Regions from separate parts of the Homo sapiens genome. Here region 1 is linked to region 2. The links are contacts of gene promoters, found by promoter capture Hi-C in human tissues and cell types (Jung and others, 2019). All regions are on one chromosome and are shown on one strand. The core of a region is centred on a gene start or on the middle of the fragment in contact, and the rest is flanking DNA. Distances in the headings are between cores, read along the strand shown. Region 1 overlaps LOC107983981 (a long non-coding RNA gene). Region 2 holds the start of ONECUT1 (one cut homeobox 1).

Region 1 (6,102 bases), core at 996-3,495, 69 kb before region 2:
ATAAGATCCAAGCAAAGGGAAAACCCCTTATCAAACCATCAGATCTCATGAGAACTTACTTACTATCATGAGAATAGGATGGGGGAAACCACCCCTGTGATTCAATTACCTCCCACCAGGTCCCTCAGACCACATGTGGGGATTATGGAAACTACAAGATGAGATTTGGGTGGGGACACAGCAAAACCATATCACATGGATATGGGTGGCACAGCCACAACATCTACCACTGAGCCTCTCAATAGAAGTTTCCTGTCCTCTTTCCTTGCCCACAATCTTCTCTTTCACATACTTGGAAACAAGAAGCTACCTGGGATGGAGTAGTAACATCTACTACATACACAGTGCCCATTGTCTTTGGAATAGACTTCCTCTGTCTGCGGAAATCCTTACATTGTGAATCCAGCCTCTCCAAAATTAAATGCAAATGCCCAGTCCCCTTGCGGGGAGGACATGGGCCTGCGATTTAGGCTCTGCTAATCAGGCACACAAACGTGACACTGTGTCTTGAAAGTATGTGATATGTGAGGTGCGCTGAGGGGGACACCTCTCGTTCCTGGGGAGAGACATGGCAGAGCCATGCAGATTTTGGTGGTAGAGTTTTTCTGGCAGTTCGGGATAGTATTTCTGACACAAAACTAGCAGCAGGGCTGGTAGCTGCAGCAGGTGCAATAATTGGGGTTTCCCAGCATCTGTTCAACAGCTTCAGGGCTTAACCATCAGGCCAGTTCCTACAGTTTAGTGATCCTCCTAGAAGCCTGCCCCCAAGTGTCTTTCTCCCTGCTTTGAATATCCTTTATATTAATTCCTTTCTTCCTTAAACTAACTACAGTGGACTTTGCTCTTTGCAACTACAACTGTGACCGCACAAGTGGAAAGAATAAATGGGGAAAAGACACTATGAAATGGTGTATTTATAATTATAAAGGAACCCAAAGGAGCCATTTGGTCTCCCCTTTTCCTCAGAAAGAGGTTTAAATGGTAGCTGGGATTTTTTCTTTTTAATTTAACTGTGTGTCTTTGGATCTGTATATGAGTGTTTTTAAATAAATATTGTATATATTCCAATGTGGATGAGATTTTTGTTTTTTCTCCCTTTAAAATTTCACAAAGTTTTGCATATCTCATCTTTTGTGATCTGAGCTATTTATCATTTTATTAAACTGTAACGTTGATGACGTCTCCACACCTTCTGACTGTGCCAGTTGTTTGCTATGATGATATGGTGAGTATGCCAGCCCATACTTCAGTGCCCCAAAGTGGTTTCTCATTGCCCTGTGGATCCAATTTAAACTCCTTATTGCTGAAGCACTGTTTCAATTCCCTTCCTACATTCATCCTCCCATTCCCCAGCCATATATCACAGAGTCTGAGAGGCTTAAAATTACACTTCTCAGGCTCCCTTGCTTAATAAATTATACCCAAAGGACATAAATCTATGGAATCCCTAGTGATACCAGTGCCCCAAATGTTCTCCATCTTAGATCTAGGTAGGACCCTACCGCCACAATGTTTTTAAAAGTTGCTCCTCGTCTCTCTCATTCCAATTTCATTTTTTTTTCTCCTGGACATTTCATAGTCAACTCAAACTCAACCCTCCCTCTATATTTCTTGAATTCTTTGAGTCCACATCAGTATTCCTTAGCTTGCAAGCTTCTTAAGGACAGAGAGGGTATCTAGTTTAATCGCAGTAACCTATTCCCTCCCTTATCCTCACAGTACACATACACGTGCTCCTAGCAAACTGCTTTGGCATACTGTAGATCCTCAAAAAAATTTGTTTGCATATATTTCTAAAGGTAAGTAATCTTCTCTTTGCATTCAGAGCACAATGGATTATGTTCTGAATTCCTTGTTTCCCTGGAGCTCAGAATATCAAAAGTTGCCAGTAAAATAGAAATCCTAAAAAGATAGGCTCTCAGAACCAGAGGCAACTGTGTCCTAAACAAAACCCACGGTTGTCTCCAGAGAGTCAGGCAAACACCCTAGGACAACTCCACTGATTTGCAGAAAGGGTCACAAGATGTTTGAGATGGAAAGGACTCTCAGAGGTCATTTTGCCCAGTCCTTTCAACTGACAAGTGAAAAAACAGGACCAGAGAAGGGAAAGTGACTTGCCCAAGGCAGGCAGATATTTCTTTCCAAGAAGATCCTAGGGCCCCCAACCTCTTTCCACTAAATCCTCCTATGCATGGCCTGGGGCAGTAAACCCCTCTTGGAGGTGTTCGCAAAGCCCCTCTATCCTCTTCAGGGCCATTGAGAATCTCAAAAGGAAACCTAGCAGCAGACTTGCCCCATGCCTGGGTGACCACAGGGATAGCGACCTCACCTCACTGAGCTCTCCCTCAGCACCCCTATATGCTCCCCTTCCCAAAATTAATTCTTTCCAATTCTTCATGTATTACCCCAGAACTTGCGAGTGAAGCCAGGAGGGAAGGGTGCCACTACTGCGTGTCCTCCACACAGATCCCCCCTGCACATAATCTCTGGGTAATGATTCCTTTTGCCAGAAGCCCAGCTCCCAAAATAGTGCGGTACATTGGCGGAGGTCCAGGAGCTAATAGGGACGGCAGCGCTATGTCTTATGACCCATTTTAACTGAGCTAATTTAGAATTTACCTGACCAAGAGTACCATAAAATGTACTCCTAAAGACGAGATTGTTAATTACCACAGGATGATTCGTCTGTGTTTGGCGGCTGAGGGGAGCTGGAGGGGAAAGGCTGGTTTCCAGAAATAATCCTTTCCTCCTCACCAGATAGGAATTAAATGTGGGAAAGGGCAAAAGGGATGGACGGAGAGGTTCGCCCACAGGAACTAAATAGGGTTATAATTAGTTGTGTGTTTGCAGGTGTCATCTTTCACCCTCTGCCTGCGGAGGAGACTGCAGGTAAACTCAGAATTCTTTGCGTCTCTGGGAGAAGGGCACTGAGTTCCTTGGAGTGTTGAAGAGCTGGGAGCAAGATGACTGCTAGGAGCAAAGCAAGTGAAGTCTCTGTGGTGTGGAGAGGCGCCCGATGCAGCAACCCCCGAATATAACACTGTTTACTGACAGCAGCTCCCCGAAGCTATTACAGAGCTGCCTGAGAGCATCCTAATTAGTGAGGGTTGCCAGCACTCCCATTATAATCCCCAGTTGAGTGATCTAAGTATTTATCTCAGCCACTTCAAGTCACAGCCCCTGAAACGTGGCCCTGAGTGGCTGGTCTCAATTTGTTCTTACCCCATGACTTACTCTAACCATCTCCATGTTTCATATTCATCTCCATGTGTATTTAAACAGAGCCATCTCGTATTAAAGGGGATTCCCATGGCTCTGCCATTGCTAGATGTCTGTCATTTTACAAAAATGTTCTCTTTCCAAACATTTCTAAGATATGAGTCATAAGTTAGATTCTAAGCATTTTCTTCCACCGTTTTGTTCTCTGTTTTCTCTCCCGCTGGTTCCACATGCTGGGTCTTGACCTCACCACAATCAAAGCAAGAATTTGTTCCCACTTTTCTTCCATCGTGGATTGTAGTCTTGCATATTAATCAGCCAAACACTGCGTTCTGTGAATTCATCCTAAGCATGCTCTCCTTAATATTCGTAAATTCATGAAACCCTTTTGGAATTTGAACCGTGTGAGATATTTAATCTTCCTGTTATGCCATAAACCTTTTTTGCATGCCATGGTCTGCCTTGATGTGTAGAACAGCCTTAGTAAAAGTAATGGGTGTCTTGCATTCTGAATCGAGAGAGCCTTTTGAAGAACAGGAATAAAACTCAAGCAGGATGAGGCATGCGTAAAAACACCGTACGTGTCGATGGGATGGGTCGTGTGAGCACTGCCTCCCTTTCTCCACAGCCACAATTGTCAGGAGAATTCCAGAGTGATGAGGGGGAGGGTTTGAGGGAGTCTGGCTTTCTTGAAGTACCAAACAATACCCTAGGTAAGTACATCAAATGTAAAGCTTCCCTTAGGCAGTGTGGAGCTGATCTAAGCTTACATCCGACACCAAAACCAGTGGTTTTGTGGATAGAGAAATCTAAAGATTAAAGAAAAAAAAAAAAGAGCCTGCATTGAATCCTTTTTGAGATCCATGTAAAATTAACACTAAAGATACTTGATGTGAGTTTGTCTATTAAACAATGTAAGATCATTAACAATAGTCACATCCAGTCACTTCAATTCAGAGCCATAAACCAACATTTCAAGAAATTTAAGATCATTTTTTCAACTTTGTATTAGGAGAATTTTCACACATATACAAAAAGCAGAGAGAATGTCTGATGAACTTCATGTATCCATCTCCCAGCTTCACCTCTATCAAATATCAACTCTTGGAATTTTTTTTTTTTTTTTTTTTTTTTTTTTTTTTGAGACAGGATCTCACTCTGTCACCCAGGCCAAAGTGCAGTGGCACAATCTCAGCTCATTGCAACCTCCACCTCCTGAATTCAAGCGATTCTTGTGCCTCAGCCTCCTGTGTACCTGGGATCACAGGCATGCACCACCAAACCCAGCTAATTTTTGTATTTTTAGTAGAGATGGGGTTTCGCCATGTTGGCCTCGAATTCCTGGCCTCAAGTGATCCACATGCCTCGGCCTCCCATAGTGCTTGGATTATAGGCATGACCCACCAGAAGTTCAGCCAATTTCTGAAAATCTTATTGCATCTATACCCACAACCTCCTCTAACCACACTCGCTGATTACCCAAGAGCTAAATTGACTATCTCATGACGTTTAAACAGGCATTCTCCATACTTAACTGACATGGATTGCCACTTCCAGTTAGTGTATTAGGCCTCCCGCTGCTATATCCTCACCCCTCCTACCCTCAAGAAGGGCTTGGGAGGGGTGAAGGTATAGCAGGAGTAGGCCTAATACACTAACTGGAAGTGGCATCTTTGGTGACTACAGCAACCAGAGATGTCCTCTCAGGGTTGTCATCAAACACACTATGAGCCAGAGGCCCAGAATGTGAAGAACTGACTGGCTGCCCCAAATAAAAGCAATTGCCAGATGATGCTAACACCCTGCAGGGCAGCACTACCCACAGCCTGCAGCCTGCCAATGGCCTGCATGAGCCAGCATGAGGCAGCATTTCTCAGTCACTAAGGCAACAGCATCAAGTGCTCTATTATCAAGGAAAGAAAGATAAGAAAGCATCATTCTTACCATAAAGAAGCTCAGTATCCTTAAAAACAGAAATAAACACACGCATAGCTTATGAACAAGTATAGCCTTCGTTCTACAAAAATGCATGAGGAATATAATATCTTTGCAATGAACCCTACATGCCCCTCGCCCCTCGCTCCCCTCCCCCTGCCACAAATTAAAGCTTGTAATGTGGTTCCAAAAGCTGAAGACTCCCATGTCCTTCTCCACTTTTTATATATTTGGGACTGTTCTTTTTGGAATCACACTAGGAAAGCATGCAAGGAAAAAAACACATTTGCACCTACTTAACTTACATGAGCTTGAGGGTGTTGATAAACGTGTAAAATAAACATCTAAGGTGGTAATGATCAGTGAGAATTTTAAGGGTCTGAAAATATTCTGAAAACCAGCCAGCCCTTGGCCCATTAGCAGCTAGTATTATACTAAAATGATCTGCCTGGAAAGCACGGAAAAATCAAAGACATTCTCCACTGGGAATCAAACAAGTTTGATTAGCAAGATGAGCCTGTACTAAACTTCTAATCTTCCCCATCAGAACAATGGTAAATCTAGCCATTAATGAGCAAATATACATTTTTAGATGGCATTCAATGAAACGCACATCAGAGAGAATGCGTGTTCACAGAATAGTTGACTTGGAATGAAGGGAAACATTTGAGATACTGGTTAGTAGGGAAAAGAAAGGAGACCTTCTTATTCAGCCTTTGTCAGTCACTATCTGAAACACAAGGAGAATGGGAACACCAGTAACCAGGCCTTCTCAGGAAGGAAGGCAGAGCTGAAGAAGCCCCAAGAGTTAAAACCCTGTTTACTATGTCTGGAGGTGGTGTAATCTATATACCAGTCACTGAAGTCATTTGAGGCTTGCCTGTTGCTGACAAATGTAGATGGACAGATACGTAAAGATGATGCATCATGAACTACAGCTGATGAATT
Region 2 (5,353 bases), core at 1,531-4,030:
CAGTTAACAATCTCTCTAGTGCCCGTCCTCCCTCCACACATGCAAATTCACCTTAACTAGGCCTAAGAAGAGCATTCTTCCTACCCGTCACTTCCTTAGTAAGAAGAAAAATTTTGAGAGGTCAAATAAGAACACAGTAATATGTTGTTTCTGACTGAGAAACCACTGCAACTCAGTCAATTACGGGAGAACAATGGTTAGATAAATGGTGTGAATAGCCAAGAAAGATTAGGGAGATTTGCAAACCAAAGCAAATCCTGCACATACAATATTTTAATGTTTTAGAAAAAAATCAAAAATTACTGAGCAAGCCAACACATATGGTGCTTCTCCAGGTCTTTTCGTTGGCTCCTTCTTTAGGGACCAACACAGAGCCAGCCCCCCTTTTCATAAATGCCCTTGGGGGAGAGGGGAAGTTGAGCTCACCTGATGCCAGCCTTATTCAGGTGGACTCCAGAGGCTCAGCTGAGTGCCTCTCATGAAGGAGGGTTTCCAAGATCAAGTTCCTAATTAGCTACACAAAGAGAAAACCATGAACAATTTGTGCACTTGGTGGTATTTACTTCTTTCTTTCTTTTAACAAACTGCCTTTTGGGAAGATAGTTGTCATAAGGGCAAATCAATCACTTCAGCGGGATTAAAATATTGGGGCGGGGGCGGGGGGACAACTGTTTAGCTGAAAGACTCCCTGCTACTTTAACCCATTGTTTGGTCTCATGCTGTAGGAAATGAGAATGGAAACAATTAAAAACCAAAGATGCAGCTTTCCACCAAGGTACTGTAATATACTAGGCAGGAAATATATGTTTTGTGCTTGTGTGTATGCGTGTATGAATAGGTAGATATAGATACAAGTTTAAAGAGTTAATCGTGTTTTCTGAGTTCCTTTACATCAGTGTATTTTCCCTAAAATATCTTTTCTTCTCTGGGGGTTCCTAAATTCCTAACTGTTCATTATGAAAGTAGACATGAAATCCATTGAGATGAATTATTTGCAGGGCCTCCATATGCATTGTTTGGACAGGATGGGAGTGCCTCTGGTGATAAAACCAGCTAGATTAACCAGTCCCAGGACATGGCCGCCTTCAAGGAAGTCACGTTGACTGTATCCACTGAACTTGACCTACCTGGATTAGGATGTTGCCCTGGTGGTAGCAGGGACCTGGGCAAAGAGATAGGCCTACTCATGCCTGGGCCGGTGGGAACTTTTCCCAAAGGGTTGGCCAGCCCAAACTTTTGCCTTGGAAACCCAACTACCACCACTACCACAGCCTTGGCCTCTCTAAGGGCTTGGGAGCATTTGCAGTGGAAACACCACGGGTGGGCTGCAGTTCGGTGCCCCAGCAAGCAAACCTACAGTCTGAGTCTGGCCCAGCACAGGCTACACACACTTTATTCCATATCTGAGTCCAGATACCCCGGCTCTGAGAGGCTATTCTCATTGTAACCACCGCTTGCCTGGGGCTGAGGCTCGGCGCTGACCCGGCCATAACTGCCACGGGCTGGACAATGGGCACATCTGTCCTTTCTCTGAGGGATGAAAGCACCTAAGCGGACACGGCTCTGCCTTTTGTTGCGGATTTTTTTTCTTTCTTTTGTAAATGAAAGAAAGCCGCGGCATGTGGCGGCCGGGTGTACGTCTCAAACTGGGGGCCTCCGCACACGTCCCCACCAGGCCCAAAGACCAGGTTCGATTCCAGATTGGAGCGTGACTGTGGGAAGGGCGAAATTACTCCCGAAGCTGAATTGATTTTCAAATCTGGAGGCGTCTCTCGGGGACGCCGGGAAAAGGGCGTCCCTAGGGGCCAAGCGGAGACCCGCGCGCCGGCGTCCACCCTGTCTGCGTCAGTACTTCTGGAAAGCAACCGCCTCCGGGTGCTTTAGCAGGAGGGCCTTGGGAGTAACCGCAGGGACGGCCCGAGCCTCCACGGCCCCACCAGCACCCGGAAGTTAACATGGGTACCCTCCAGGGCACTCCCTCCGCTCTCCCTCGCCCCCCTCCACAGGCCGAGTCATCGGCGAAGCGGACGCACAGCCTTAATTATGAGCTGAGCGGGAGAAGGAGCCAGGCGGCGGGGGACAGTGAGGTATGGCCCGAACTGGGATTCTTGGCACTGATTACTCCTCTCCCCAGGGCATGGATGAGAAAGGGTGGGCAAGTATGTATCTGGGAGGACGAAGGGTGCCGGGTCAACGGCCGCCAAACGGACCCAGCCCTTTAAGCAATCTGCACCCCACCCCACCCCAACCCCCATCCCCCAATAGGCCGTGAATTCAAGGGTGGGAAAGCGCACTCCCAGCAGCCCCCCGGGAAATAAAGCTTAGTGGGCTAGAGCCGAAGGGGTGATGACACAGTCCCCAGCTCCCCGGGCAAGCTGCACCGGGAAGCAGCAACTGGAGAGAGAGGGGCGATGTCTCCAAGCACAGCACTCCAGCCGCTAGAAGCCCGACACGAGCGTCCCCGGGCTGGGAGGACAGAGCCCACTCAAGCAAGGGAGGCGAGCGAGCCAGGCGCGAGTCTCCTGGGATTGCAGCGGCGGCCCCAGGTCGCGCTCTGCGCCAATCTTTCGCACGTGCCCGCAGCTCCCTGGCCATCCAGCGCCGCAGGGAAGGCGCTGGGCCCCCTCCTTCATTTGTACCGGGACGCCAAGGGCCTGGCGCGCCGCGACCTAGGGGGCGGGGGCGGGCCTCGCGCATGCGCGCTGCGCCTGGCGGGCGTGAGGGCGGGCCGCTGCGGCGGCGGCGGCGGCGGCTACCGAACCGCGGCCACAGAGTCTGTAACAGTAACAGAGCCATGGCTCAAGCTGGCCAGCGGGGCGGGCAGGCAGCAGACGCGGCAGGCGCGCGGGCCGCGGCAGGGGAGCCGGAGACCTCAGAATTTTAAGAAAGAGAGGGGCGAGAGGTGGCCGAGGCGGGCGGGCTGGGGCACTGCGCTCTCCCAACGGCGCGGATCCTCTTTGGAAATTAATATTAAAAAAAAAAAAGCCGAGGACGCAGAGGGGAAGGTGGGGGGTAAGAGGGAAGGCGAGACACACACACACACACACACGCACACGCACACACGGACACACACACACGGAGAGAGAGAGAGAGAGAGACAGAGCCCCACAGTGAGAGGAAGGAAGGCAACAGTCGCCAGCAGCCGATGTGAAGACCGGACTCCGTGCGCCCCTCGCCGCCTCTGCCTGGCCACATCGATGTTGTGTCCGCCGCCTGCTCGCCCGGATCACGATGAACGCGCAGCTGACCATGGAAGCGATCGGCGAGCTGCACGGGGTGAGCCATGAGCCGGTGCCCGCCCCTGCCGACCTGCTGGGCGGCAGCCCCCACGCGCGCAGCTCCGTGGCGCACCGCGGCAGCCACCTGCCCCCCGCGCACCCGCGCTCCATGGGCATGGCGTCCCTGCTGGACGGCGGCAGCGGCGGCGGAGATTACCACCACCACCACCGGGCCCCTGAGCACAGCCTGGCCGGCCCCCTGCATCCCACCATGACCATGGCCTGCGAGACTCCCCCAGGTATGAGCATGCCCACCACCTACACCACCTTGACCCCTCTGCAGCCGCTGCCTCCCATCTCCACAGTCTCGGACAAGTTCCCCCACCATCACCACCACCACCATCACCACCACCACCCGCACCACCACCAGCGCCTGGCGGGCAACGTGAGCGGTAGCTTCACGCTCATGCGGGATGAGCGCGGGCTGGCCTCCATGAATAACCTCTATACCCCCTACCACAAGGACGTGGCCGGCATGGGCCAGAGCCTCTCGCCCCTCTCCAGCTCCGGTCTGGGCAGCATCCACAACTCCCAGCAAGGGCTCCCCCACTATGCCCACCCGGGGGCCGCCATGCCCACCGACAAGATGCTCACCCCCAACGGCTTCGAAGCCCACCACCCGGCCATGCTCGGCCGCCACGGGGAGCAGCACCTCACGCCCACCTCGGCCGGCATGGTGCCCATCAACGGCCTTCCTCCGCACCATCCCCACGCCCACCTGAACGCCCAGGGCCACGGGCAACTCCTGGGCACAGCCCGGGAGCCCAACCCTTCGGTGACCGGCGCGCAGGTCAGCAATGGAAGTAATTCAGGGCAGATGGAAGAGATCAATACCAAAGAGGTGGCGCAGCGTATCACCACCGAGCTCAAGCGCTACAGCATCCCACAGGCCATCTTCGCGCAGAGGGTGCTCTGCCGCTCCCAGGGGACCCTCTCGGACCTGCTGCGCAACCCCAAACCCTGGAGCAAACTCAAATCCGGCCGGGAGACCTTCCGGAGGATGTGGAAGTGGCTGCAGGAGCCGGAGTTCCAGCGCATGTCCGCGCTCCGCTTAGCAGGTGAGCCGGCCAAGGAGCTGGGCGCGCGGGAGATAAGGTACACGAAAGCCGAAGGGACCAAAGGAGGAAGGGTAGGAGAGAGGGCTGGGTGCGCTTCATCCCGCCCGCCCCTACCCCTAGAAGGGGGACTCCCTGTGCCTGGAAGGGCCAGCACAGGGCTGTGGGAGCAAATTGCCTACTCCAGGGCTCAGGGTGTTGGGCTGTGGAAGGCTCCGAGAGCTAAGCGGCCGGGCCTCGGCGACTGAAGAGGCTCATTTGCGCTCAGGGACAGCGAGGGAAGCTCGTACGGCCTGAGGCGGAGAGAAATCCCCGCACCTGGTGAGACACTCTGCGCCACCTCTCAGTTCAGCGATCCGGGTTTGGGAAGAGGGATGCAACGCGTGCGTGGAATCGCACGCAAATGTTCCTCGCAGGTACCTCTGACACATCCCAGGCGCTGGGCTGGAGCGTGCCGGAGCAGCGTCGATGTTTGGCCGAACTGGCTGCTGTGACCCCCTCCCGCGCTCATTCTTTTGGCGCTGGCTGGGGTGACCTCAATCTAAGAGTATGGGCAAAAAGTTTCAGAGCCATTGGGCGGTGGGTGTGTAGCACAGACGAGTTGTAAGGGTTAGGACGCTCTCTGCGCATGGAATTGGCTGTGGAAAGGAGAGGGAGGCTGACCGTCCCAAGGTCCCAGTGAGAGCTGCAAAGCAATAGCCATGTCCTGGGACCGACTCCGCTGCCGACTCCCTGAGGACTTTGCATTTTGTTTTATTATTCCTCTTCGCGATTTTCGTCTGAATCCCCGTGCGGGAGGGGGGTTTGGGGATGAGAGTGTGTAAATGACCCCCAAGTCTAGGAGCAGAGGTCTCCTGCCCGAAACCCCAAGCCCCAGGTGTTTCTGAGTTCAGCTGGAAGCTCTCCTTGGCGCAGCGCAGACACCGCGCCTGGCTCCCCGAGACCGCGGATAGGCAGAGAAGAAAGCTGAGCCCAGCCCGAACCCCACCGGGGATTTCAGGAGGATTCGGCGACCCTTGA

Evidence for each region. Contacts are between HindIII fragments. The study calls those that stand out against the background at their distance.
Region 1: a contact is called between a fragment that was not itself captured here and the fragment with the promoter of ONECUT1 in region 2, in 2 of the 25 tissues and cell types used here (dorsolateral prefrontal cortex and lymphoblastoid cells).

The regions. Positions count from the first base shown.
Region 1 is chr15:52,855,405-52,861,506 of GRCh38, reverse strand. All of the region lies in intron 1 of LOC107983981 (a long non-coding RNA gene), which reads right to left. Among named protein-coding and RNA genes, the nearest start is that of ONECUT1, 68 kb to the right of the region's middle. The HindIII fragment of the contact is 4,821 bases long and covers 1-4,655 here.
Region 2 is chr15:52,787,763-52,793,115 of GRCh38, reverse strand. ONECUT1 (one cut homeobox 1) reads left to right here and starts at 2,780. Exons shown (of 2, transcript NM_004498.4): 1 at 2,780-4,336. The coding sequence starts at 3,232. It overlaps LOC105370824 (a long non-coding RNA gene), which reads right to left and starts at 2,686. Exons shown (of 2, transcript XR_001751550.2): 1 at 427-2,686. RefSeq lists enhancers at 957-1,724, 1,725-2,493, 2,490-2,784 and a silencer at 2,673-2,742. The HindIII fragment of the contact is 12,558 bases long and covers 1-5,353 here.